Linked DNA regions of Homo sapiens: regions 1, 3, 4, 5, 6 and 7 are each linked to region 2. Evidence: promoter capture Hi-C in 16 types of primary human blood cells and fetal thymus (Javierre and others, 2016). All regions are on one chromosome and are shown on one strand. The core of a region is centred on a gene start or on the middle of the fragment in contact, and the rest is flanking DNA. Distances in the headings are between cores, read along the strand shown.

Region 1 (3,709 bases), core at 210-2,709, 1.1 Mb after region 2:
AGTGGAACTTCCCATCTATTACGCCTCATACTGAATTTGTCCTCCCACCCCCTAGCCTTGGCTAAACCTGCTTGTTCTCTGTGTCTTTCTGTTTTTGCTAACGGTATTTTAACATTCTCCCAGCCACCCAGGCCCTACATTTGTGCTAATTTTGACCCCAACTCTTCCTCCCTTACCACACAAAACCAAAACAATTTACTTAGCACTATACCTTATATTCATTCCTTTCGCATTCCATTAAACTAGTTGGGACCTTATTACTATTACCTTGGGGGTCATAGTAGTGTGTTTTCCAAATTACCTAATCTTCTGTGCTACAGCAACCATCAAAGACTGGCTGGGTTAGTTCAATCATGCACTAGTCACTGTTCTTGAAACAGACAAGGCCAAATCAGTACCTTCAATATGGGAAGGAAACAAAAGCCTAGGGCAAAAGTTTCAGGCAGTGGAGGACTAGATGCTTATGCCTGAAAGATCCTTCTGGCTTGGGAAATTATTTTTACTTAAGAATGAGAAGTGATAACTTGGGAGAAACAACTGCCTGTACTGGATATAGTTACATCATCAGAGAATGTGGTGGTGGTAGAAGTACGGATGGATTGAACACATGGTTACTCTCCAGAAAGAACTGAGAAATACTATTAGCATTGGCTCCAGATGCTTGCCCTGGGTGTGGCCAAGACTTGAAAGAGGTTTCTAGATAAGGTTTCCTGGCTACATTCAATCAAAGATGTAAATCTACCAAAGAACCAGAATGATGTAGCAATCATAGGCATTTAATAAAGTATATCTCAGTATAGCCATAGGTCACAAATCCCTGAAGTTGCTTAGCACCAAGAAAAAGCCTAATTCCACACAAGAGATGTGACAGAAAATTCTACAAGCTTAGTATGGGCTAAAGTCCAGACGGTAGCCTCTTCCCAAAGTCTGGAAGGCTGATATGAAAGAACCTGTGGAAAGGGAATAGGGTGATGATCAGAAATAAAATGAGTAGGTAGCCAGCCTAGTGGGTGAAGCAGGGGAAATGGAATGTTATGGAGTGGATATGCTGTATAATCTTGGGCAATTTACCTCTCTGGGCCTTCAGTAAAATGAGGAGATACAGTAATGATTATTTTATCTCCAATCTTTTGTAATCAGCAGGTGAATAAGGATCATGTTAGTCAGTCTGGACAAAACTACCATGTTGTTTAGAAGGAACTTGGGAAGAAGGCGGGTGAGGAGAGGCTGGAGAATGGTTCAGGTCTACTTAGAGTGCTAAAGGAGAAGGCAAGGAAAAGCAAACAGCGCAATTCCTACTTGCATTTCTATAATTATGTATTCAGCAAATATCTGAGTGCCCAGAGAGTGACAGGCATGGTTTTGAAACTCAAAAACAAAACGGTGAGGAAGAGAAAGCCCTTGCTTCTACCAAACTCACAGTATTGAATAAGCAAACATAATTTAAGTGTTTCAGTGCTATGGTGCTTGATTTCATGGTAGAAAGAACACCTTGGGAATGACAGGGACCATGGGGCCACACACTGAAACAAGTATCTACAAAGGGAAGGTAGGAAGACATCTTTTCTCAAGAACAGGAATTTTACAATCTAGGACAGTGGAAAAACATTAGGGCTCAATCACTGTAACATTAAGAGTGTAGCTTTGCGCTTTCTTTTAAAGTTTCTAGGGGTGTATGGTCCCTGATACTTTGGAGACAGAGTATAGCTATAAGGTGGCTGGTAAACGCTTTCCAAGTCAGGACATAAAACTATCTGGAGGTATCTTCCCCTCAGGCACAAGTTGACCCTTCTTAGATCATAGTCTAACAGAATGTCTATAGCAGAAGGCCTGAATCTGTAACTGAACTTGTAATGGAGATAATTCAGTAACCCTGCTAGGGTTCTAGAAAGCATGCTTGAATCTCTGGTCCACCTTCTCCATCAAGACATCAGTCTGGGAGTGAGAGTGAAAAACAATATAAAATTAGAATGTAAACTTTGAATTCCAAAAGGGTATGGACAATATGATCTAACCAGGGTTTTGCAAGCTTGAGGGCATGGAGACCGTCTGTGTATGGATACAAAGGGCACTATAGTGAATACACTGACAAAAATGAGGACAAAAATGTGATCACAGACAGGAAAAGGTTTGGAATCCAGTCCAGAGAAAAAATTTTCAGGTCAGCAGGGAAGGAGCTGGTAGTGGCTGCTGCCACAGCCCTCTGACCCATATGAAGGTTTAACAGTGCACCAGACAGCTTTTCAAACATGGGATTGGAAAACCAAGAGCAATAAAACATGTCCTCCGTGGTGCCTTTTAACGACCCCAGTACCGTGCTCCACAGCCTTGATATGATGGAGGGTGCCAAGTCCTAGCACCCTGCAAAAGCATCTTAGGTCCTTCCAGGATGTAAGAGCAATGCCAAGTAAAGCTGAAAGTTGTTCTCCCTCATGGTTCTTGTTGGAGACTCCTCGGCCATAGCTCAGCAAATATGCCCTGTGGCATAGCTGGTTGGATCTGCTAAAAAAGAAAAAGAGACAGTGCCCTCTGTTACACAGACACTGTGCCCAGCCAGAAGGGGTACTTGTAGTAGACTGAATCCTCAGAGTGGAGGAGGCCATCTTTCTTCCTAGGCTTTTCTAGGGGCCTGGGCTGTAAACTACAGAATTAAGTAACACAAAAAATGTTGCATCCTCAACTGACCGCTTTAGGTCAATGGATCAGGTATTGTGTACCTCCCTGCTGGTGTCTTTAGCTTTTATGACATGCTTTTGCGAAACTGTCTCTTGCATTGCTGCTCTTGCAGGAGTGGATAAGGATCTATTAGAACAGGATCTGAGCCCCCTGTAATCGGGACAAGACTTTTATGACCAGTGGGAAAGAGGGGCACTCAGTCCAGAGGATCATGGGGAAAATGCAGAATCCAGATAATACTAAGGTGGTGGTTTATGGTATACACAGGAACTCCAACAACTTGAAAATGGGCCTTTGGCTACAAGGGAACTTCCCAGCCCTCCATGACCTTTAGTAGATCCAAAATTTAGTTGTGGCCAGGACATAAGCCATCTTTTCCTCTGAGCACATGAAGAACTAAGAGTCAGAGATATGGTCTTTGAAAAAACAAGACAAACTATTCTTCCAGCTTTATTCGGGATGAAACATTCTTGATACTAGAAAAACTTTAGCTTGGACTTTAGCTTCAACTGTGCTGAAACCAGGTCAACCAAAATATGTGGAAACTGAAACCAGGTAGATTCTCAGTGGTGTCAGCAAACTTCTCAGACAATTCAAAGTGGGTGGGTTGAGGGGGTGTCAAGGCAGTGGGTGGCAAAGTGGGCTCTCTCTTAACATCAATCACTTATGTGAATGTGCATAATAGCCAAGCAAATACAATTTAATTCCAAATAGGCTTTTGTGAAAGTTTCCAGAGAAAGTTTTAATGGATTATGAGTAATAACAAGACAGAACTGGCCAGAAAGAATAAGGACCTGGAATTAAACTCTGAAAATCACAAGCCGCAGTCATTTAATATCTAAGTGGATAAGGTATCAAATCCAGACTCTAGTTAAAGCAGGAGGGATTAAGCAGCCAAGCAGGGTGCAGCACAAGGAGGTCAGGGAGAGAGAGTAGGTCTGGCAAGGAAAAAGGACGTATAACAGAGACTGGACCTGCTGGGTGCGGATGGCAATTTAGTCTCATAAGTGTCAAGAAACACAAGTCCCAGGAC
Region 2 (3,990 bases), core at 753-3,252:
CTAATTGCAGTGGAAAACATGAGAAAAGATATAGTCCAAGTAAGAATGACACTTGAGGGTTCAGGCCCGCAACACCAGCTAGGTAGACCCTTAGGTGGCCCAGTGGTATACAAAGATTTAAGCATTCCCAGCTGAGCCCCTTGACAATAGAGATACATCATTTTATTTTGTATCACTTAGTACTGTGCCAAATCCAAAAATACTCTCTCAAGTGCAAGAGTATTCAGGAGTTAGAAATATTGAAAGTTCCACTATTCAAGCAAATTAGGTATAGTTCATATAATTTTTTCAACTCAGGATCCTCAGTCACTCCATAGAGTAAGCAAAGTATGCAATTACTAGAATTATTAGTCTCAATTTACATAAGATCACACTGCTGGCACTAAACTCCAGTTCCAGACTCTTTTTTCCACTATTGAATGCCACAGAAACATAAAAAAAAAAAAAATGGAAGGATCTTTAGAAACCATGTAGCTGGATTTTTTTTAAGATGATGAAAACTGAGGCCCATGAAGAGAGTCACATTAGCTCAAGGCTCCTACTAAAGCCAAATAATTTCGTGCAAAATCATCTCCCTCTGATTATCATTATCTACACACACAAATACATAATTTTTCTTTTTGCCTTTCTGAAAATCTGGAGGTCTGAAAAGACTTTAAGATTTCTCTCAAGTTAAAAATACACGTTTGTACGTGTAACCAGAGGGCAAGTTTTCTATGGTCCACATGTTTTCTTAAAAAAAAAAAAAAAAAGGAAATACAGGAGATGTGCAGTGCGTGTGACAGGCAAATGTTCTCGAACTTTATTGTGTAGTGTAACCCCTATGGCACAGGCCCTTAGAATTCAGCCACATTAATGAAGAGATATTTTTATGTAGTAGAAAGAGCACAAACTTTGAGGTGTTTTGTTTTGAGACAGAGTCTTGCTCTGTTGCCCAGGCTGGAGTGCAGTGGCGCGATCTCAGCTCACTGCAACCTCCACCTCCTGGGTTCTAAGCGATTCTCCTGTCAGCCTCTGGAACAGCTTGGATTACAGGCGCCCGCCACCACGCCAGGCTAATTTTGTATTTTTAATAGAGACGGGGTTTCACCATGTTGGCCAGGCTGGTCTCGAACTCCTGACCTCAGGTGATCCACCCGTTTCGGCCTCCCAAAGTGCTGGGATTACAGGCGTGAGCCACCGCGCCCGGCCCAACTTTGAGGTTTTATCTGCCACTTACTATGCAGTCTTGGCTAGAACACTTAACTTCTTTGAGCCCGAGTTTCCTCATCATTAAATGGAGATAATTCAGGTTTGATGTGAAGATTTGAGAAGAAGGTATGTCTGACACACTGCCGAAGATCGATAAATATTTGTTGAATGAATAACACAGCCAGCCGAAGCTCAACAAAAGACACATACACAAACACACCCACACGGTTGGGTAGTTGCCGTCTCCCGGGGAGCTCCAGAAGTGTAAGCTCTCAGCCCTCCCTCTGACTTCAGAAGCCTGAAGCTACTAAGCCCGCAGCCCGGTGCGTCTCTTCGCAGCCTTAATCAGTGCCCGGGCAAAGGCCTGCAGAGAATTCTCTGGGCCTCGCACCAGGCCCCAAGAACACACTGGAGACTCGTTTCGCCTTCTCCCTCGCCGTTTCCCCCCTCCAGGGCCAGAGTCCGAGGAAGCCCGATAGCGGTTCTCGGCCTCCGAAACACAACTACAACACTGGGGAGCTTGCCCTGCAGTTAGCGTCCAGCGGGGATTAGGCACTTCGTTTTCCTCATCGTTTCAATCTCTATCTTCTGGTCGGGGTCCAAGCTCAGCGGCACCACGTCACGGCCCTTAGTGGTCTAGGCCACACCCCTCCTTCCCGACAGCCTCAAGTCCACTACCAGCGGTCTGGAAGGCCACGTTGCCTAGGAAACTGGGGCGGGGCTTGGGAAACGACGGCCCTGCGCGCAGTTTGCGCAGGCGCTCCGGCCCTGGCCTCTGACTATCGCGAGAATCGGCTCCCGGAAGTTCCACGTCAGTCAGTCTGACGGTCAGTGGATCGGTGGGTTTATCTCAAGGCCTGAGTAGCCGGTAACAAACGAGGGTTCCCGGGATTGGACCGACGCAGCCATGGTAGGTCCAGATCCCGTAGAAGGGAGCGGGGTCCCATAGGTTACGGCCGATTCCTGGAGCTTCTGGACTGAGGGCCGCGGTAAGCAGTGGTCTGGGCTCCCGCTGCGGCCGCCGCCTCAGGCCTTGCGGGGTCTTGGTCGTTTGATTCCAGGAAGGGAGAAGGCGGTGGGGCCTAGGGGACCGGGGTGATTTGGGGAGGCAAAGCCTGCTAGTGAGGGGTTTTGTCTCCCCTGGCGCTTGTGGCGCTTGCCAGAGCTCCTGCAGTCTGCAGCGGGATCGGTGGTGTAGGGAAACACAGAAGCCGAATGTGTTGAACTCCGTAGGAGGCTTTGGTAAAACTAAAGTTTGCCTTTAAAACGGTGGTAGTTAATCTACACTCCTGTTGGGCTTATTCTGGGGATAGTGTGTGCTGGCTACAAACTATAAACAAGCAAAGAAGCCAAAAACAAATGTATATGGAGTCAAAAATGGAATTTCAAATGCTTTGATATCTCAGCTGTTAGGTTTCTAAGGGGAGAAGAAGGGTTGGGAGGAAGGGGGTGCTGTTTATAACACTGGCTGGTGTGCTTTTATGCATTTGCAAATCCAGTGGCTGGTAAGAATAGTAATTGTTAGAGCACTTTGTTATTATCACCGTAACCCTAAAAAACGCCCTAGACTAGTTTGCACAAGAGTGTTATAATAATAAGGAAAGAAAACGATAGTATAAGAATATCTTCCGTCTCTATTGAAAATGCAAAAAAAAAAAAAAGAAATTAGCCGGGCGTGGTGGCGGGCCCCTGTAGTCCCAGCTACTCAGGAGGCTGAGGCAGGAGAATCGCTTGAACCCGGGAGGCAGAGGCTGCAGTGAGCCGAGGTCGCACCACTGCACTCCAGCCTGGGACAGAGCAAGACTCCGTCTCAAAAAAAAAAAAAAAAAAACTTGTTATGAAGCACAGAATCAAACATTTTGGAGCTTGAAGACGCTAGGGATTAAGTCCCTCATCTTAAGTTAAAAAATTTTTTTAAATTATGTTTCTACAAGGTTAATTGTGGCAAAGTTGGAACTAGGAAAAAGTTAGGAATACTCCCAGGGAAAATGCACAGAGAAACAAACATTTTTGCATAAAATTCAGTGCATTCATTCACAGACACCCCCCCCCACAATCCATGGACCTTCTTTTTTTTTTTAATTTGTTTTATAAAAAATATGGAACGCTTCACGGATTTGCGTGTCATACTTGCGCAGGGGCCACGCTAATCTCCTCTCTATGTGCTGCCGAAGCTAGCACTATCCGTGGACTTTCTTGGGCACCCAGGTTACAGTCCCTGAACAAGACCTCAAGCCTCTTAATTAGAGCACTTCGTATTACTAACTACCTGATGTAGTTTGGGTCTGCTGTGGTTGCAGTAATGGACGTTTTTGGAAAAGGCTCTTGGATCTGCCTAATTTCATTTTCTTTTGCCGTCTTTACATTTACCAGTGTATTTCTATAATGAAATATTGCCTTCATTCTTTATATATTTTAAATCCTTTGTGGAAAATACAAAACGTGAATTCATTCATTTGTACATTTACCATAGAATATTTAGTGTCTGCCATGCACTTTGCTAAACATGGCTGCCTAATTCTCACAGCAGCTGGGAGATAGAGTTATATGTTTGTGAAGTGGTTACTGTAGGTCAGGCACTGCTCTAACTGGCTAACTCTGAATTTAATTCTTACAGCACTAAGAGGTAGATAATAATAATATTCCTGTTTTACATAAGTCAAACTTGAAAGAGGTTAAGTAAATTTGCCCACTATTGCACATCTGAAATGAGTGGTGGAACTGAAATTTAAATCCATCATGGCTTTCTAGTCTTGTGTTATGGTATCTGTTCTTAAACCCCCATACTCAAATATATAA
Region 3 (3,840 bases), core at 399-2,898, 1.2 Mb after region 2:
TACAATTAATTTTCAGACAGTAACAAAGTTTAAGAAAGAAGTCAGAAAGAATAAATATTTCTATCTGGAGAAAAGGAAGCTTTATCAAATCACACTACACTATCTCCATAAGATCAGTATTACTCTGAGATAAAGAAAAAAAAATGTTGGGTGATCTGTCCCCTTTAAACTATAAACAGATTTTAGTATTTTAAGTAGCAATCACGTTTACTAGAATGTTATCACTCACATTCTCTTGTCTGAGTTAGGAATTTTAGTCCCTCTCTCTCTTCTACTTTAGTTTGAACTGTCTCCTCTGTTTTTTTCCCCCTTTCTCTTCTTTGAGGAGAATTATCTTTTTTTTTAAGTTGTTTTAAATTGGAGCTAATAACAACTAACCACTTAAGTGCCAACTGATCCACAACGTATCAGACATTGAATTTTATAATTCTGATTTAATTCTCACATCAACCTGGCAATATGGGCAGTGTTATCTTTACAGATGATGAAATTGAGGCTCAATGAAATTACAAAACTTGTCCAAGCACACCACTAGAAAGGGACCATAACAGAAAATGTCAGAATTAGGAATTCAAACCACTATGGTCCAACTCCAAACCCCACGCTCCTTCTACTCTACCATTCCTTCACACAAACATTTCTTTATGTCTAGCTGACAGCTAATTAGGTCTCAAACTGGTAGTTTTTCAAAAGACACTAAGGCTATCAAACTACATTTTAGCTGCTTTGTCATAATTCTATCTTTCCCACTTTTATCATTTGGTATTTTATCAATTTTTGAGAAACTAGTGTTCTTTGGTAAGTAAAAAATTTCTCAAAGTGACAACATTCGAATCAGCTACTCATATCAGATAGAACTCTACCAGTCTATCACACAGAATTCTTGATTACTAAACAGCTTTCTCCTAAACATAGTAGCAGTGATATCATCTTTTAATACCATTTATTGAACACTTAATAAGTCTAACATTCTCAACCATTTATTGAGTAATTTTAAGTAATACTTAGAATTATCTATATACGGAGCTATCTGGTTATATGTGGAGAGTATCTGTCTAAGGAAGAGTGTTAAGTAAAACCTGCCCCCTTGACGAACTTGTGTGTGTAGGTACAACCCAAACTGATTTATTTAATAGATGGATTTAATAAACCATTTTTCCTGGTAATAATTAAACTAGTCTAAAAAGGAGTGATTAAATAATTATAAAGTCTCCTACTTAAGGGAACAAAGGCAAAGTTAACATAATGAGAACACCAGAAATACCACCGTTTTTTGTAAACTGAGAAGCCGTGAAAATAAGCGTCAAGTATCTCGGTGGATCCTAACCAGCTTCCCACCTTCCCTTCCAGCTCAATTTGAATAGCCAAGCAGTTTTACAGCACTTTTATTTTACCTCCCTTTATAAATTCACAACTCCAAAGCCTACAATGCCTTTGGGGAGAGAGGCTTTAAGAACTGCAGTCCGAAGAAACTTGTATAAACAAAGCATCCCAGCCTTGCCATGGCTAAGCACAAGTTAAAGTACTATTTGGCTGACAATGCTTATGGGATTAGAGAAAAAGAAAGAGGCCTCCCTCATGGGCGCCCTCATCATTACCCAAATGTATCTTGACCCTTTTTTGTGTCTTTCTTCCCATAGACACAGTTCAGGCCTGTGGATCCTTCACATTTCCCAACCCCATGATAAGCCTTAGTCTAGACCTTCCTCCTTAGAACTAATGCGCTAAGAGTATGATAATCTGAAACTCAAAGGAAAGGGAATAAATCTGAAATCTTATCCTACTTGCTTCTCTTAATTTTTTAAGAGCATAATTACCTCTGGTATGTTGCTTAAAAATGTTTCCTCTCATTAAACATGAAATTTTGGAGAAAAAAAGGCATTATGGTTATTAAGAGTTTAAATTTTCTGACAGCTTTCTAAATTCGAAATTTAAAACATCAACAGGAGACTCAATCTTGGTGACAGTTAATGAGTTAACCAAAAACAAAACAAAGCAAAACAAAAAACCCTACTGGTCTATTCTTTCACTGCATTCCAATTATGAAAGACCATCAATCTTATTCTCCTGCTTTTGTGGATATTAAAGAAGCAAAAGCATTCTCCAAAGAAAACATTTTTTTAATGTGAAACAAGTATTCTACAAAAAATGAAGCTAACCATGTCAGTTAACAACTATTCAAAAGACAATTCTTTATGGTAAAATATTAAACGTCATGAATGTCAAGCAGTCTTTCTAGAAAGAAGCCAAATGAAAGAAAAAAGGTATAACCCTGTATTTTCAAAATTAAAATATGTGGCAGATTAAAACATGAAAACAAACAACTTTTTGATAGACTCTTAAATACATACTACTTACATGACACCTTGTAGAACTTTCTGGGGATCAGGGTCAAATAGCCTGTCAACATAGTGGCGACTGCTAGCTGTTACTTCCTAGAAAGTGGGGGGAAAAATTATGACATCTGAAGCCATGCAAATCACAAATTCACAGCATCACCCACAATATCAAGTGACTAGATAATTTAACTTAAGGTAGATGCATTAAAATTTATATGAAATACTTAGTTTTGCCTCCTCATGATATGGGATACTTAAGCAGGTGACTTTTCTCTCTCAGGTATCAAAATAATGGGAAACTGTAGTGTTCAGTTCAAGATGTCAAAGATCAATATTTTTCTTCTAAGAATGCCCAATTTCAAAAGTAAGAATGTCCATGGTATACATTTTACTATGTCTTAAAACTAGCAGGAGAGTTTGGAAAATCAACGTAATTACAAAGCACATCACTTTGTTCATTCAGAAGAATCATCAGGAAGATATTAAGTATATTTTTGTAAATACTTTATTACATTAGTCTGAAAAAAAGCTCATGACAAAGATAAACAGTAAGACAGAAAAGAAAGAAGACTCCTAGTTCTCACTAAACACATAGCTAGACAGTGGGACCTTTGTGGCGAGCCCTAGAAGTTTTGCCAACAGAAGACCTAGGCAAATATGTTAGCATATACACTTAGCAGCAAGCTAAGTTTCTTCACTAACTGCTGGGTGTCATGTACGTATAATTAATAGATAGGAATATTACTTCTATAAATTAGTATACACAAAAGGACAAAATCTGGCTCTCAGCCAGGGAAGAGTGAGGACTCCATGAAACAGTCTGTAAGGGGTAGTCTAGGTACAAGAGGAAATCCTTAGACTAATGTAGAGAAGCTTCATTGCTGGAGGCAGAAGTAAAAATAAATAAAGGAGTTGTCACACTTTCTGTGAAGGAAAACAATTAAGAATTAGAGTGATCTGTAGGCCACCCAAGCTGTCTCAACTGAACTGGATAAGGGTGGGTAGAATTAGAAAGAGTACAAAGGGAAGACACTTACCTCCTTTTCATTTGTATTGTGAAGTTTTTCTATTGTGTTATTTCTTGTAATACTTATTTTGGAGGGTAACTCTTTTTTAATATTTAATTTTTGATGCTTCATATTATTTAAAATAAAGAATCCATATTTAAGAACCAGAGAAAAAGTTTTGTCCCCTGCTTGTTTTTTCTGATGCCTGCTGAAATATCTTTATATACTCCCCCGCCGTTAGCAATAAGTTCTTATAGGGAGGAAGAAATAACTTTTCCAATTTACTCAGAACTCCAAATCAGTAAAAGTTAATTACCAAGACACAGTACCAGCTTAAAACTTTTGAGCCACCAAAAATAACTCTGGAGAACTACACAAACTCTAGTTTTCTGATAATATAGTTAACTAAGTCAACATATATTTTCTTCCCCCCTCCCCTGAGACGAAGTCTCGCTCTGTTGCCCAGGCTAGAGTCCAGCAGCATGATCTTGGCT
Region 4 (3,688 bases), core at 468-2,967, 1.4 Mb before region 2:
GCAGGCTGAGTACGTAGGGAAGGTTCTAAAGTTGTTAAGTGCAAGCTGCAAGATTCTAAGATTAATTGTGCTTCACTCTCCAGTGAGATTAATGTATTATAAATCATAGAGGCATATCCCATCAATCTGGTGCCTCGATGCAGGGAACATTATAACCCTTAACTCAGCAGAAACATACCTTCCATCCATTACAGCATCTCTCCTGGAATAAAGTATGTGCTCCTCAGATAGGGCCAGGGCAACGGACAGCATTTTAAAGACATCTTTGAGATAGCTGTTACAACAGGGAAACCATTTCTATGGCTCCTTGGTTTCACTCTACAACAATAACTTTTATAGACAGTACATATTTGGAGAAGTGTTTTCTGGACACTTAGTATCTGCACAGCCCTGGGGTAAGTTCTCTGGGGTGTATGAAAGGAAGAAAACTTATGATTCCTACTCTTGATGAGCCTACTGTTTGTTAGAATACTAACAGCATGATTTTGATGCTAATAGCTATTGTTTATCTAGCATTTACTATATGCATACCAATAGAATATACTAAGAAATTATTCATAGAATGTATTTTAAAATAAATGCCAACAAGGTTAGAGAAAGAAAAGATATGTACTGGCTGGAGTAAAGTCCCTATAGAAGTCGGGCCTGTGTTGAGCCTTATTGGTGGAAAGGCTTTAGAGAGGTGGGACAGGGTACATTTCCCAATGTAGGGTATATATTGCATGAGAAAAATGAGGTTAGATAAGCAGTGAATAAATACAAGAAAAGAGGCTTGGAAGTAGCTAGCAGAACCACAGAACAGGCAAGAGCCTCTTGCTGTGTACTTTTTCACCCTTCCAGGCTCCATCTGATATCAATTTCATTCCCCTCTGGGGACACCTTGCCTAGAGGAAGAGAATTCCCATAGGAACTCATCACAAGGAAGGTGAAAAGTGAATAACGCAATAAAGCTGGACAGGCAGGTCCTATAGGCTACACCAATAAAGTCATTTGACTACATTGTGCCAGCTAGGTTGTGTGTGCAGATACTTCTAGGGCCAAAGTTAGTTTGCCAAGATTTGGCAGGGAGATAAAACCAAGCTTCCTCCTCCCTTTCCTCTTCCTCCTTCCTTATTATAAAATAATATTATAAACTTATGACCCCTTCCTTCTCCTTTTAATTTATCCTCTTCCTTGACGCCAAGCTCAGCCCCCCTAGTTACAGCTTCATGCCATGCACGGCTCACTCAACTTCATTCATTTATTCATTCGACAGGTATTTATTGAGAATTCCATATGCATCCTCAGAAAATATACAGCCTTATAAGGAGGACAATTAAGAAGAAATTACAATAAATATGAGCATAGCATCCTCTATTTCTAACAGAGAGGTTTCTTTAAATTATTGAGGGGAGGAGGGCATCAGAAAAGAAATGACATACAAACTGAGACCAGAAGTATGAGTGGAGATGTTCTTTATCCTTCCCAAGCCTGTTGAGGGTACCTCTGTTTGCTCTGGGAAGCTGCCAGGCACTTTAAGGTTCTTGGCTGACTTTGGCTGCCACCACCAGCATACACAAGAAATTAATATATTTGTTCAATCAGTAAATATTTCTTGGGAAGTTCTAGTATCCAAACAGTGTTCTGCGCTGTGTGGATTCAGCTGTAAGCCAAATAGGCAAAGCACTTGCTGTCATGGAGCTTGCATTCTAGTAGGGATGGGCAGAGAACAAATAAATAAACAAAAATAGATAATATGTTAGGTGCTATGGAAAAAATAGCAGAGTAAAGTGATAGAATATGTGTTCTTGTATGTGTGTGTGGGTATACACTATTTTAAATAGGGTGGTCTGGGTTTCTCTGCTGAGGTGATATTTGAGCAAGAACTGATGAAAAGAGTGCGATGTGGCTTTCTGGGGAGGGGAGCAGCACTCTAGGCAAAGAGCACAACTAGAGCAAAGGTTTCTTGGAAGAAGTGTGCTAGGTGTGTTCAAGGAACTGCAGAAAGGCCAGGTGATGAGAGCTCAAGGAGGAGAGCAGAAGTGGATAAAGTTGTGGAGTTTCTGTCCCCATGGCAAGGTTTACATTTAAGAGCTGCTGTGTCGAGATATGACAGTAGAGGGGCAAGATCAATAATGAAGGAGGTCAATAAGGAGGCTATTGCAATGGTTCAGGCAAGAGATGGTGGTGGCTTGCTATGGTGGAAGCATGGGAAGTGGCAGGATTCTGGATATACATACAAGATAGAATGGATAGGTTTGCTGATGACTTGGATGCGGGTGTGAGAGAAGAAAGGGGTCAATGATCACTGAAAGGATTTTGTTCTAAGTCACTGATAAAACAGATTTGTCATTAATTGAGATGGGAAAAGCTTCAAAAAGAACAGGTTTTGGGGAGCAAAAATATGTTAAGTTTGTTATGCCTGGCTATCATTCAAGTGGAGATTTCACGTAGGCAGATCATCATACAAGCCTGGATTTCAAGGGAGTGTTTGGGAGTTGTTATTTAAAGCCGTGAGACAGATTGATCAGCAAGTGGGGGACTCTAAAGATAGAATAGATAAGGGCTGAGGGATGAAGCTGGGGGGCCTCCTTGCTTAGAAGTTGGGGAGATGAGAAGGATCCTGCAAAGGAGGTTGGGAGGGTGCAGCCAGAGAGGTAGAAAAAATAAGCAGTGTGTGCTGCCCTGGAAGCCAAGCAAGCATTTCAAAGAGGAGGAAATGACCACCTCTGTCAAATGCTGCTGAGAGGTCAATGGTGCAAAGACCAGAGGTCACTGATAACCCTGTCGCAGTAGGTTTGATGGAGTGATGGGTCCAAAGGCTGATAGGATGGGCCCAGAGAGGATGAGAGGAGGGAAGTGGAGAATGGCTATGGAGTCACCTCTTCCATGGAGTTGTGCCACAAAGAGGGGCAGAGAGATGAGCCTATAGTTGGTAGGGAAAGTGGGGTCAAGGGAGGACATTTCCCAGATGAGAGAAAAGCAACATGTTTATGGGCATCATTTAGTAGAGAGGGAAAGCAATGGTGCCAGTGGGAGTGACAACTGCAGGGATGATGGCCTTAGCAGGTGAGAGGCATGAAATCCCACAGCCAGTGGACAGGAGTAGGAATAGCTCATTCCTGCAACAGGAGGGCAGGTGGGTGGGTGGCTTTGGGGTGTGCAGTGCAGGAGTTCTCCTCTGATGGCTTTACGTTTCTCAGTGAAGTGAGCAGCTGGGTCCTCATCTGAGCATGGGGATGGGGAGGAGGTGATAAAGTTGTGGGTGGAGAGAAGGGATGAGGTGGTCTAGGAGATTGAGAGAGACCAGCTTGGAGGGAAGGCATGACTGTGGGGTAGTACGAAGGGCCTCTTGAGGGAAGTGGGCATGAATTTAAAAATAGCTCAGTCAGAATGCTTCAGGATAGCATTTACCAGGGTGAATCAGATCTTGGGCTTATTAAACCCACATGGGAGGAGACATTTTTGAAGAATTCCCAGGATGGTACTGAAGCCCATTGCCCTGTTTCATGTCTGGAGGACAGAGATATCCTGCCAGTAGATGACTTCTGACCACAGCTCTACAAGGCAGACATGGAGTTAGGGTATTTCCCATGGTGGGGGCAGAACCCCAAAGGATGGCCAAATGTATTTATCACAAATTCATCTTCAACTTCCTTTAACTATCAGTGGAGACATGCTAGAAGGTTATAGGAAAGACACACAAGCA
Region 5 (3,949 bases), core at 1,293-3,792, 1.6 Mb before region 2:
TACAGTTTATAAAGTTACAGCATAATTTGAAAATGTGAGATATGAGTAAATATACAATAAATCTCAGATATTAGGGAGAATTTTCAATGGAAAATCAAAGTTCGTGGCTTTGTCTAACATGCATAGCAGCAAATGATTCCAGAACCAGATTGGTCAAACCAACTGTTTATCTTTATGGCAGGGTAAAGACCTAAAACTAGTTATTTTAATTCAGAATCATATATACTTATCAGTGATGACAGAAACAGAGAGTTCCTGGAAACATTTCTATAGTAAGCATGTACACATAGCCAGTGTCTAAATTTCAGGTGCTGTCTAGTGTGAATTATGTAGAATAATAAACAATTTTAAAAAATACACATAGTAACTGAATTGTCAATAATAATACATCACTCACAAAAATTTCAGCATTTGAGCACAGGACAAAATGAATACTTTACCAAGAATTGCCGACACATTTCAGACAGAAGCCAAAACATGCAGCAAAAAGGGAAAAGGCACTAACAGAAATTGAGGAGAGAAGAGTAAATTACAGCTCCATAACTTATTTATAGTGTAATTATGGTTGGATTCTTAAAACTGTTAACAATGATCACTAAACATTCAGTGGACTACACAAGGCAATATAAATATATTACTTGTACCCTAGCATGTAAACTCCTGACTACAAAAATGTCAACTGATGACAGATTTTACATATACCTAATTTGGTTTATATCGATAAACGTAAAAATCATCTAATCAATGAAAAGCACATTAATCATCAACTTTTCACTACAAACTTATAATTCAATATTAAGCCTCTAGGTTTCAGAAAGTTTTTTTTTTTTTTAATATTATACATTCATACCTGCCATTGCAGCTGAAATCATATGTACTTGGGTAGAATCAGGATCAAATACATCATTCAACTTTTCCTTGCAGTTTGAATAAGCAGCAAAGTATATTGCTCTAAAATAGAGATTTAGATTTATCAATAAGCATGTTCTTAATGCGTAAGATTTACATATAAATTGATCTTCATAATTTTAGAATGGAGAAATTTAAAAACCATAAAGTCCTAGCCACATTCTCATGTAACATTAGATTTACACTTTTCATAAATACTCTGAAGTACTTTCTGTATTGACTCATTAAAATAAGACAACATCAAATGTAAAATTCCTACCATTCATCCTCAAACAGACCCCCTTCCAATACTCTGACAGCCACTTAACTCACTAAAACTTGGTAACCAAGAAGATAAAAAGAAAAAATGAAATTAAAAAAAAATAAAAACAAAATAATAACTAATTTAAACAAAAAGTATTTAAGATTTTAATGTTTAGAAACTAAATGAATGAATAAGGCTGTAAGGCTGGTGTAATGCTAAGGCTAAATATAGTTACTGAAGATAAGTAGATATGGTATGAGCACTTAACATATAATTTTCTTCATGGGGAGAAGAGGGTGAAGCAGATCCAACTGATTAAAGTATATGCTAAACAATTTTAAGATACTGTGGTATATTCTAATTATACTACACACACAGTAATTCACATTATCCTTAAACAGACAAAACAATTCCAACAAAAGAAATCAGACCCATCAGGTCAGAATGTTTTCCAATGTTTGTAAACACTGAGTGAAATTTAATTATTTCCCTCATTGTTAACTTACTGACTACGATTTTATGCATCCCCACTACCACCTCTATGTTAACTTCCCATGCTTTGAATTATTTGCTTGCTGTATGAAATATCCAGTTATTTCCCCAAAAATCCTGATTACTCATCCAATAAGAAACAGAGTGACAAATACAAATGAGAATTTCACTGTTGTACCTTTTTTAATGTACTTAAGAAAAAAGGAAAATTAATATAACTGAAAATGAAACATTCTAATTTATGAGAAAGAAAAACATAAGATACACTTGATGCCAAGTTGGGAAGAGGAATAAACAATGCATTTCTAGAAACTGGTAAGAAAAAAAGAAATCCTAATGAGAAAATGGCCATGAAATATATATAGGCAATTCACAGGAGAGATATACAAATGACAAATTACAAGAAAGTATGACTGCACCAAAAATTAAATAAATCATATTAAAACAGTGAAAAATCCCTCTTAGTCCATTTGGTAAGTATTTAAAAAAGATGGACAGTAGCCAGCATTGGTAAGGCTATGGATAAGGGATAAAAATCCAGTATGCCTTTTTTTTTTTTTTTTTTTTTTTTTTTTTTGAGACGGAGCCTCGCTCTTTTGCCCAGGCCGGAGTGCAGTGGCCCTATATTGGCTCACTGCAAGCTCCGCCTCCCGGGTTCACGCCATTCTCCTGCCTCAGCCTCCTGAGCAGCTGGGACTACAGGCGACCGCCACCACACCCGGCTAATTTTTTTATATTTTTAGTAGAGATGGGGTTTCACTGTGTTAGCCAGGATGGTCTCGATCTCCTGACCTTGTGATCCACCCGCCTTGGCCTCCCAAAGTGCTGGGATTACAGGTGTGAGCCACTCTGCCCGGTCAATATTCACTAGTCTTAAATATGCATATGCCCTTTTATCCAGAAATTCTAATTTTAGGTGACCATCCTAAAAAAATATACTTCCTAAAGTATTCAAAGATAAAGGTTGAGGTATGTTTACTGAACCATTGTTTATACAATGAAAATCTAAAAATAATCTAAATGTATAATAAGGAAATGTTTATTAGTGCTAGAATGCTATACAATTTTAAAAAAATCACCCCACATATTATCATGGAAAAACTTCAGTTAGATTAGGTTAAACATTTAGTATTATTCAGTTTATGTAAAGCACAATAAAGTATACATGTTTTTATGTATATGATAACCGAGAAAAATTACTGGAAGAATATACATGAACTGTCTATTAATGGTGTTTTTTTTCTTTTAACTTGTTTTATAATTAGGATGCAATTTTGGATATTTTCTTAAAGAGAGAAAAGAACCCATAAAAAGTTGAAACGTAATAAATAACAAGACATGGATCTGGTACATGGTTTGGATACAGAAAGCATTTTCACTCTAAATATGAACTTTATACAGTGTTCTATCATGGAAGAGGTTAACAATCTAAGATGCAATGGTGTCAGAGAAAAATGACGAAGTTATGTTTTCATGTCCTTTTGGCTTAATAGGGACTGCAACCATTCTATCTGTTTGGTTTGTCCCATAAGCCAAACAATGACTTAGTTTTAAGAGTTCCAGATCTTCCCCTTTCTAACTGCTAGTTCCTTTGGTTGTTCCTTTAGTTATTAGTTCCTTTGCTTGTTCTCTGTCTTTTGACTTTTTTAAAAACTACTTCACAATGGTCTTACTATGTGGTCCTTTGCACCTACACATGGTGCCATGCCCATCCTTTTAGATGGTTACTGATACCTGTTTGTCACACCATAGTTCTTTATCCTTATCACCTTGACACCTCTTCAGCATCTTCCTTGAATAGCTTCCTTTTTATTATGGTAAAGGCCATGTACATCACTTACTGCCCTTCAACGATACACAAATTCTCAGGTTTTTAGACTTTTTGTCCCTTTCTTCAACCCTGTTCTAAGCCCTGACATCCTTCCTAGTCCTTTGGTTCTATTTTCTATCTTGTTTCTTTGAAGTTTAATTTCTATGTGGAAAGTGAGAAAGGAACACTAACTTCAGGTGGAGCGCACAGCAGGACAGCTATGAAAAGCAGAAAAAGTCGAGATATCCTAAATGCCTTTTGGCCCAAGGAAAATATTTTGTTTAAAAGAATGCTTACCTTTCTTAGAGTCAAAATTTTTCAAGATGCAAGAGCTGGTTTAGTTAAACTCACAAATCTAGCAAACACTTATCTCAAAATATCAGGAGTATTTTGCAGCCTTAGCCCTGTGTAGATTTTCAATTCTGCACCCCCAAATTCTTCTAACTCCTATGGTCAGATGAGAGGATAAGCATCTCCCCAGAAGACTCAATACA
Region 6 (4,032 bases), core at 527-3,026, 1.1 Mb after region 2:
CTGAAAGAAGAGCAGACACATAAGTTTAATACCCAGAGAGTAGAGTACATTACTAATACAAATACCAGTGAAGGTTATTTTAGGCCCTTCTTAAGACAGAGTAAAGATATACCCTTAATAGTTTGCTTTATTTTCAAAGTTAAAAGCCAAATGAACAACTGCCTACCAAATGAGGTTTTTTGAAACTCAAAAGCATGAGGGAGAGGTCAAAAGGAGAATAGTTACCATTGGAACCACTGGCATGAAAAATACAGTTACATTCATGAAACAGTACTGGCTACTAATTAAGAGGCAATGTTCTCTCTACCATGACCTCCTTGAATAAACTTTCTCTTACAGAATGTTCATCTCCTATGCTTAAAGAAATGGATAGGGCAAACAGGCTGAGATGCAACAAGTCAAAATAAATACCGATCTATTCTAAGGAACTTAGGTTTTCAGAAAAAGCACAATTTGGCCTTTTTGGTCCCAAATTCAAGATTAAATGATGCTTTAGCTGTCACTAGCAGGCCCAAAGCACAGTATGAAACTGGGAAAAAGAGAAGATAGGGAAAGGTAACAAAATAGACTGTGGTGGAAAGTAACATGGGACAACTTAGTCTCCTGTAACAAAAAGATTACTCCTGACCTAAAGAATGAGAATGTAACAACAGAGATGATTCCATGACCAAGAATAAGATTATACGGTTATGTCAATACCCAGCTTGGAGAATCCACTACTTTTGAGGTTTAGTTGGGGAGTTAGGATGCAATTTTCTTTATTGCTTATCTGCTCAGTAAAAACTTTCTGACAATAAACATTAAACAACTTGGATTCAAAAATTCACAAAGCAATATTATCTATGTTACCAAAGATAAAAGAACCTTTATTTAAAAGGGCTTTAAGCTGTAGTTATCAATTGGTTCAAAACTGTGAACAGTAAGAAAAACTTTAGAAAAATCTCCCTTGAGCTGCTAAAAAAGGAAAATAACATACCCTTTTAATATCAGTGATGGCACTCACTGAGCTGGGATACTTGAAATAATCAGCAAGCATGGCAATGAGGTGATCAGTTATGCTAGCGATTCTCTGTAGCTCAACATCTGGTTCAATCAGATAGGCAAGTGTCTCAGCTCCTTCAACTCTCTCCTCTAGTAATCTCTCCTTACTGCACATTCGAACCAAACAAGGTAATGTCTGAAAGGTAGTGAGATTAATTATTTGCTTTTTGGTAAAGGTAAAAGCTTAAGCATATAGTGACTGAATCAACTCAATAGCTTTTATCAGGAGTAATGTTTATGATCATATATTTCCTTTACTGACTTCTAGAGAATAAAAGATTTTTTTAAAATGCAAAAACAAGCAAAATTCAGTACACATTAATAATTTGTACTGGCACATTAAACTCTATTCGTACGTCAAAGTATATTAATACAAATTCTAATTAGGCTTTTGGGACCGATAAGACAAGTTTTATTGTACAACTTTGTAAAAGACATTTAAGAATCCCTAACAAATCATGTCTGATGGTTCTGCCCTATCTATCTATTTATTTACCTAAAAAAGACCCAGCAGTTTAATCAGGAATGATTTTGCCTTAGGAAAAGTATGCTATCTCTTCCTTAGTGAGTAATATCGTTTATTTTTTGGTTTGGGGAGTCATACCTACAGTTGCCAAAACAAAATACAGCTTTAAAACTGCAGTGATCTTACCATTACTCAGATTCCACCAGTTCTACTATAATGCAACTGAAATGTATCACAGTTGCTAGGTTTTCCCAGTAACTTGCTGGAATTAGCAGTGGTATCCATGAGTCCAATTTTACTTCTGAGGTCCCTCAAAAATCTTGGCAATGGTTTGGTAACTTATCTACATTAGGTTCTCAATAAAAATATTACAGACATTTACTATTTCTTTTTCTTTTTTTTTGAGACGGAGTCTCGCTCTGTCGCCCAGGCTGGAGTGCAATGGCACGATCTCGGCTCACTGCAACCTCTGCCTCCTGGATTCAAGCAATTCTCCTGCCTCAGCCTTCTGAGTAGCTGGAATTACAGGCACCCACCACCACTCCTGGCTAATTTTTTATTTTTAGTAGAGATGGGGATTCACCAGGTTGGCCAGGCTGGTCTCGAACGACATTTACTATTTCTAAGCCTGACGGATCCACTTGAAAGGACAATGTGGAAGTATAAATTGAAATGTTATCATTATAGAAAGTCTTCCTCAAATACTGCAGGCAACTGTGCTTTGCTCTTTTATATATAATAAGTTCCTATTATATCTTTTACCACAGAGCTTAGCACTTCATCGTTCACTACTAATTTCCTATTAGGCTAGTAGAAGCTTTATAATTCAACCCTAGGTTTCCAAGGGGAAGGCCCTATTCTTTTTTCCCTAACATTACTAGTTACTAATATTTATTGATACCATAAATTCATGAATTATGTAATCTAATGCTCATGACTACTATGTGAAGAATATACTACTAACATTTTACCAATGCAGAAAAAGAGGAAGGTTAGAGAAGTAAATAAATCAAGATAAATGCTATGGAAGTCCGTGGCACTCTATGAAGAGTTGTTTACTTAGGGAGTGTTCAGATCTCATTAAATTAATTCTCTTCCCCAAAGACTAAAGCAAATATTAGTCTTCTTTGTGCTCTTTTATCCTTGGGATCACCTTTTGAACAATGATAATGTGAGATCTCATATTTATAAAATGACACATCATCAATTTACTTATACTTAATTTTTTATAGCTAATAAGACATTTTAATGTATTTAATATATTGTTATCCTCACAATAACCCTGTGCATAGATGAGCAGGAATTATTGCTTCAATTTTCATAATCTGGAGTCCGAGGCATCAAAAGAATAAAGGATGTACAGTCAGAGGTGGGAGTGCTAAAACCAGAATCCAGGTTTTAGGACTTTTAGGGCTGGTCTTTTCTCCAGGTTTTTCTAAATTCAAGTTGTATATGACATATCACAATGACAATGCTTGTTTTCATGTGTTATCTACTTATTCTCTTTCATTATGCCTTTTGATTATCAGCTATGAGAATGATATAAAGTCTTTTTCTGCAAAAGTGGCAAATCGTCTGCCTCTAAAACTGTAGTACAAATTTAATGACAATCAAGAACGAAATATATTTTCTGTTTCACCTGAATTGTACACTTTTACAATTTCCACATCCTCCTAATTACCATAAAATGAAAGGCTGTGACAATGAAATAATTATTTCACGCTGACTTTCGAAACACATCTAAAATCAATTTTTAAAAACTATATGACATCCACTGAAAAGAAAGCATGGTCTTTCAATATTATTCTACGCCATGCACATATATCATAATGATAAATGTGTAAAATGAAATATGAGTATCAATACTGATATTTAACACATAACTGGATAATTTTCACATTTTAAAGATAATTAATTAGCTTACCTTTAATACAATACAGTTATCATCTGTCCGAATTGCTCCAGCTCTACACATGTAAGTTAAACTGGAATAAGACAGCAGAAAATAAGTTTTTGCTTGGAGTTTAAAGCTTTAAATGAAAAATTATTTGCCTTTAAGATTTTATTAAAAAATCGAAAACCAAATAATATCACTTATCTTGAGAGTGAAGATTTTGACAATTCGCTTTTCGGAGGTTCAGTCAATTTAATAGTCAAAGAAAACTAACTGACAAATACAGATGGTAAGCCAGATATTTAAAAAAACAAAATGAAACAAAAACCTACCAAATAGTTTTAAAAATAAATAACCTAATGATGGACACATTTTGAGGCTAGGTGCTGGGCACATGTTGTATTCTTTATACTTCAGAATTTTCCATAATAAAAAGGGAAAAATGTTCAAAATGAAACATAAGATGAACACATTATCTCAGTTTAAATGAAGTTGGAATATTCTAACTCCAAATGCAGTAGAAGTATCACAGAAGAGGCATTTAACTTGTAACACAGCTATCCATCAGAAATGAACTATTCAGAGGTTAACAGCAGGGGCTTTGGGAACGAGTCAATAATTTGGTTCTACT
Region 7 (4,170 bases), core at 1,270-3,769, 1.5 Mb before region 2:
TACAGATCAGCGAGTCAAGGCTCAGAGGGGTTAAATAACTTACCCAAGTTCTCATTGTCTCAGAGCGGCAGAGACAGTGTGAGGGTTGGTGGTGTCAGATTCCAACATTCAGGCTCCTTCCTCCTCCTGAGTCAGGCTCTTTTAAACAGTAGCTGCCACATATTGAAGATTTATTGTCTTAGTCCATTTGTGCTGCTATAAAAAAATTCCATAGGCTAGATAGCTTATAAATAACAAGTTTAGGCTAGGCATGGTACCTTATTCCTGTAATCTCAGCACTTTGGGAGGCTGAGGTGGGAGGATAACTTGAAGCCAGGAGTTCAAGACCAGCCTGGGCAACAAAGCAAGCCCCTATCTCTACAAAAAATAAAAATAAAAAATAAACATCACAGAAATTCATTTCTTGTAGTTCTGGAGGCTGGGAAGTCCAAGGTCAAGGCACTGCTGGACTTGATATCTGGTGAGTGCCTGTTTGTTGGTTTATAGTTGGTGCCTGCTTGCTGTGACCTCACATAGTGGATAGGCATGGGCAGCTCTCTGGGGCCTGTTTTATAGGGACACTAATCCCATTTATAAGGCTTCAATCTTATGACTTAATTACCTTCCAAAGGCCCCACCTCCATCACCTTGGGGTTTAGGTTTCAACAGGTGAATTTTGGAGGAACACAAACATTCAGACACAGCACTTACTATGTGCAGGCACTAAGCTAGGCCCCTCCTCTAGATTATCCTAGTATCTAGCACATAGTGAGTATCAAGTAAATGGTAGTAATTACTGTTAAGAATCTTCACAAAGTCCTTTTGAAAAAAGTATTGTTATTTCCACTGTGTAAGTCAGTGCTTGCTAAACTTCAATAAAATACAGATTCTGATTCTGTAGTTCTGGGGTGTGGCCTAAGATTCTGCATGTCTACCAGCTTGATCTTGTTGGTCAGGAGCACGCTTTAAGTGACAGGGGTGTAGACAGTAGAACTGGAGCTCAAAAGAAGAAACTGACTTGCCATGCACACCAGCTATCAGGCCTGGGTGCATCTGGTGCTAAAGCTCAGCTTCCTTCCCTCACATTCTCCTGCCTCTTAGTCTCTGAGTCCAGTCCCCCGATCTTGAAAGCAGACTACCTGCAAGGCTGTTTTCTCCACGTGTGGTCAGGATCCTCTGCACTGGGACCTCCCAGGGGCCATCTCATGGTGCTCAGGAACAGGTACACCCCTGAATGAGACCACTGCTCCAGGCCAGATCAATCCATCCACTGAAATCATTTTTGTTTTTGCCTGGATGTTGTCTTCCATTATGTCACCTTTTTTTTTCATTAGTGGCTTGATTGAAATATAATTTACATACCATAAAATTCATTCATTTAAAGTGTACAAGTCAGTGGTTTTTAGTATATTCACAGAAGTATGCAACCATCATCACAATAAATTTTGCAACAGTCTAATCATTTCCCAAAGAAACACTGTACCCTGTAGCTGTCACTTTCCAATCTCTCTAGCCCTCGGCAAGCACTATTCTGCTTTCTATCTTTATAGATTTACCTCTTCTGGACATTTCACGTAAATGAAATCATAAATGTGACTGTCTTCTTTCACTTTGCATAATGTTTTGAAGATTCATGCATGTTGTAGCATGAGTATTTCATTCTTTTTTTATGACAAAATAAATTTCCATCCTATGAATATACCACATTTATGCACTCATCACTTGATGGGCATTTGGATTGTTCCCACTTTTTAGCTATTATGAATAATGCCCTGAACATAAGCATTCAAGCTTTTTTGTGGACATGTATGTTTTTATTTCTTTAGGATATAATATACCTAGAAGGGGAATTTTTGAATCAAATGATAACTCTATGTTTAACTTTTGGCAAACTGCCACACTGTTTTCCAAAGTGGCTGTGTCATTTTTATGTTTCCAGTAGCAACAAATGAAGATTCTGATTTCTCGACATCCAACACTCGTTATTATATGATGTTCTTATTACAATTATCCTAGTGGATGTGAAGTGGATAATACCAGTTGCTATGAGTTGAATTGTATGTGTCCCTCCAAAATTTATATATTGGAACTTAAACCCCAAGATGATGGTATTGAGAGGTGGGGCCTTTGGGGGAAGTGATTAAGTCATGAGGGCTCTTTCCTTGTGAATGGAATTAATGTCCTTGTAAAGATTTCAGAGAGCTGCCTAGCCCTTTCATTCCTTCTGCCTTGTGAGAGTATAGTGTTCATCCTTCTGCCATGAGGGGGTACAGTGACAAGGTGCCATCTTTGGAGCAAAGAGCAAGCCCTTACCAGACATAGTATCTGCTGTCCCCTGGGTTTTGGACATCTCAGTCTCCAGAATTGTGAGAGATAAATTTCTGTTCTTTATCAATTATCCAGTTTCAGGCATTCTGTGATAGCAGCCCCAAATGAACTAAGACACCCTATCTCCTAATACCATCACCTTGGGAGTTAGCAAAAAATATGAATTTTGGAGAATGCATACACTAACCTCATTACTTTCTGCTCTGTAGGGCAGGGAGGAGGCCTTACAGGGCATCTGAGTAGGATGAGGAAGAGCTGTTTCTGAGCAGGCTCAAGCTAGGCAGACAAAGCAATTGTAAATTGCTAGGTGACCTCAGTAGTTGTAAATTTGAATGATATTCTAATGAATAGGTGTGAAAAGCATTTCCCAGGGTTGGGGGTCACCAGTGTGGAAGCAGACACAGAATGTAGGAATAGGCAATTGAGAAAGCCCTATCAATCAGCCTCAGCATGCTTATCTTGCACCTTTTCAGCACATGCACTCCCAGCCTGGACTGGACCAAATTGCATTTACTATTTGCGTAGGGCATGGTTTCCAATCCATTTATCAAGTTCCTAGCACAGTGGCTAAGAGCATTACAACTGAATTCATGCTGCTTGGCTTCAAATCCCTACTCTATTAGCCATGGCAACTAGAGGGAGTCACTCAGCACTTCTAAGCTCTAGGGTCTTTGTCTGTAAAATGGGAACATCAACACTCCTACCTCGTAGGCTTGTGAGACTGTAAAAAGGCAATGAATGCATGTACCTTATTTGGAGACTGTACAAATGGAGTACTCAATTTTTCCTCCCACGCTTCCATCACAACTTGCTCTCAATGAATAATTTAACATATGAATTTAAGTAACCTGCCTTCTCTAATTGCAGAAGGAAAGACTTATGTCCTGGTGTAGAGAAAGCCATCAACAGTGGGAGAGAGAGGTTACTTGGAGAGGTTTGAAGGGTATCTGCAGAAGCTTCTCATCCTGGCAACTTCTCTGCCGCTTCCACCTTCACACAAAGTTGACCCAGATGCTTAGAGGACTCCCTTCCACTGATGACCTTTGCCCCATCACACAAGATGGAGTAGCTATACAAGAAGTGATCATTAACGTTGCTTGATCTAGTGCTATGCTAACAAATTCAAATCTAGCCTGATTCAGATAATATAATAGTAAAAAGAATGAAATTGTATTAGTTTGTTCTCATGCTGCTAATAAAGATATAGCTGAAACTGGGTAATTTATAAAGGAAAGACGTTTAATTGAATCACAGTTCCATATGGCTGGGGAGGCCTCACAATCATAGCAGGAAGCAAGGAGAATCAAAACCATGTCTTACATGGCGGCAGGCAAAAAGAGAGCTTGTGTAGGAGAACTGTCCTTTATAAAACCATCAGATTTTGTGAGACTTATTCACTACTACAAGAACAGCATGGTCAAACCCGCATCCACGATTTAATTACCTCCCACTGGGTCCCTCCCATGACAAGTGGGAATTATGGGAGCTAAAATTTAAGATGAGATTTGGGTGGGGACACAGCCAAACCATAACAGAAATATTTTTAAAAGCTCCACATTGTGTCTAGATCTAGAAAATAATAAAAACACTTTTAATTTTATTGAAATGTATAAGGAAAATCACAAATGAAAGACTACAGGGATTTTATGTTATGGAAAACACAGAGAGGCAGGTAAATAATTTTAAAAAGTTCATTTTGAGTTAATATCTCAACAGCTCAATTTATGATGACTCATAAATACAATTTATAAACTATGAGTATCTCGTAATCTTATCACATATATGATATTCCACAATTAAAATTTTTTTTCACACTTAGACATCTCTATAAATAAACGGCTATCATTTAGATGTATAAGGAGA

The links. The method cuts DNA at HindIII sites, captures the fragments that hold promoters and counts their contacts. A CHiCAGO score of 5 or more calls a contact.
Region 1: a contact is called between a fragment that was not itself captured here and the fragment with the promoter of COPB2 in region 2, in 1 of 17 cell types (total CD8 T cells). The highest score is 5.2, in total CD8 T cells.
Region 3: a fragment that was not itself captured here is called in contact with the fragment with the promoter of COPB2 in region 2 in 1 of 17 cell types (naive CD8 T cells); the score reaches 5.3 in naive CD8 T cells.
Region 4: a fragment that was not itself captured here is called in contact with the fragment with the promoter of COPB2 in region 2 in 1 of 17 cell types (total B cells); the score reaches 6.9 in total B cells.
Region 5: a fragment that was not itself captured here is called in contact with the fragment with the promoter of COPB2 in region 2 in 3 of 17 cell types (naive B cells, naive CD4 T cells and total B cells); the score reaches 6.9 in naive B cells.
Region 6: a fragment that was not itself captured here is called in contact with the fragment with the promoter of COPB2 in region 2 in 3 of 17 cell types (total CD8 T cells, megakaryocytes and naive CD8 T cells); the score reaches 5.3 in total CD8 T cells.
Region 7: a fragment that was not itself captured here is called in contact with the fragment with the promoter of COPB2 in region 2 in 4 of 17 cell types (total B cells, naive B cells, naive CD4 T cells and 1 more); the score reaches 11.4 in total B cells.

The regions. Positions count from the first base shown.
Region 1 is chr3:138,257,745-138,261,453 of GRCh38, reverse strand. All of the region lies in intron 12 of ARMC8 (armadillo repeat containing 8), which reads right to left. It also overlaps a transcript of NME9 not described here. Among named protein-coding and RNA genes, the nearest start is that of NME9, 70 kb to the left of the region's middle. The HindIII fragment of the contact is 1,145 bases long and covers 887-2,031 here.
Region 2 is chr3:139,387,659-139,391,648 of GRCh38, reverse strand. COPB2 (coat protein complex I subunit beta 2) reads left to right here and starts at 2,002. Exons shown (of 22, transcript NM_004766.3): 1 at 2,002-2,101. The coding sequence starts at 2,099. COPB2-DT (COPB2 divergent transcript) reads right to left here and starts at 1,846. Exons shown (of 5, transcript NR_121609.1): 1 at 1,716-1,846. It also overlaps the pseudogene LOC124906339. RefSeq lists enhancers at 1,165-1,274, 1,154-1,716, 1,485-1,784, 1,717-2,278, 2,075-2,324. The HindIII fragment of the contact is 7,530 bases long and covers 1-3,990 here.
Region 3 is chr3:138,208,412-138,212,251 of GRCh38, reverse strand. It overlaps ARMC8 (armadillo repeat containing 8), which reads right to left. Exons shown (of 22, transcript NM_001363941.2): 2 at 2,359-2,435. Among named protein-coding and RNA genes, the nearest start is that of ARMC8, 23 kb to the right of the region's middle. The HindIII fragment of the contact is 3,133 bases long and covers 82-3,214 here.
Region 4 is chr3:140,827,857-140,831,544 of GRCh38, reverse strand. No RefSeq gene overlaps it. Among named protein-coding and RNA genes, the nearest start is that of SLC25A36, 110 kb to the left of the region's middle. The HindIII fragment of the contact is 1,270 bases long and covers 1,083-2,352 here.
Region 5 is chr3:140,960,129-140,964,077 of GRCh38, reverse strand. SLC25A36 (solute carrier family 25 member 36) reads right to left here. Exons shown (of 7, transcript NM_001104647.3): 4 at 851-951. Among named protein-coding and RNA genes, the nearest start is that of SLC25A36, 20 kb to the right of the region's middle. The HindIII fragment of the contact is 5,552 bases long and covers 1-3,949 here.
Region 6 is chr3:138,238,928-138,242,959 of GRCh38, reverse strand. ARMC8 (armadillo repeat containing 8) reads right to left here. Exons shown (of 22, transcript NM_001363941.2): 10 at 3,432-3,492; 11 at 977-1,177. Among named protein-coding and RNA genes, the nearest start is that of ARMC8, 54 kb to the right of the region's middle. The HindIII fragment of the contact is 1,100 bases long and covers 1,227-2,326 here.
Region 7 is chr3:140,855,668-140,859,837 of GRCh38, reverse strand. No RefSeq gene overlaps it. Among named protein-coding and RNA genes, the nearest start is that of SLC25A36, 84 kb to the left of the region's middle. The HindIII fragment of the contact is 1,493 bases long and covers 1,773-3,265 here.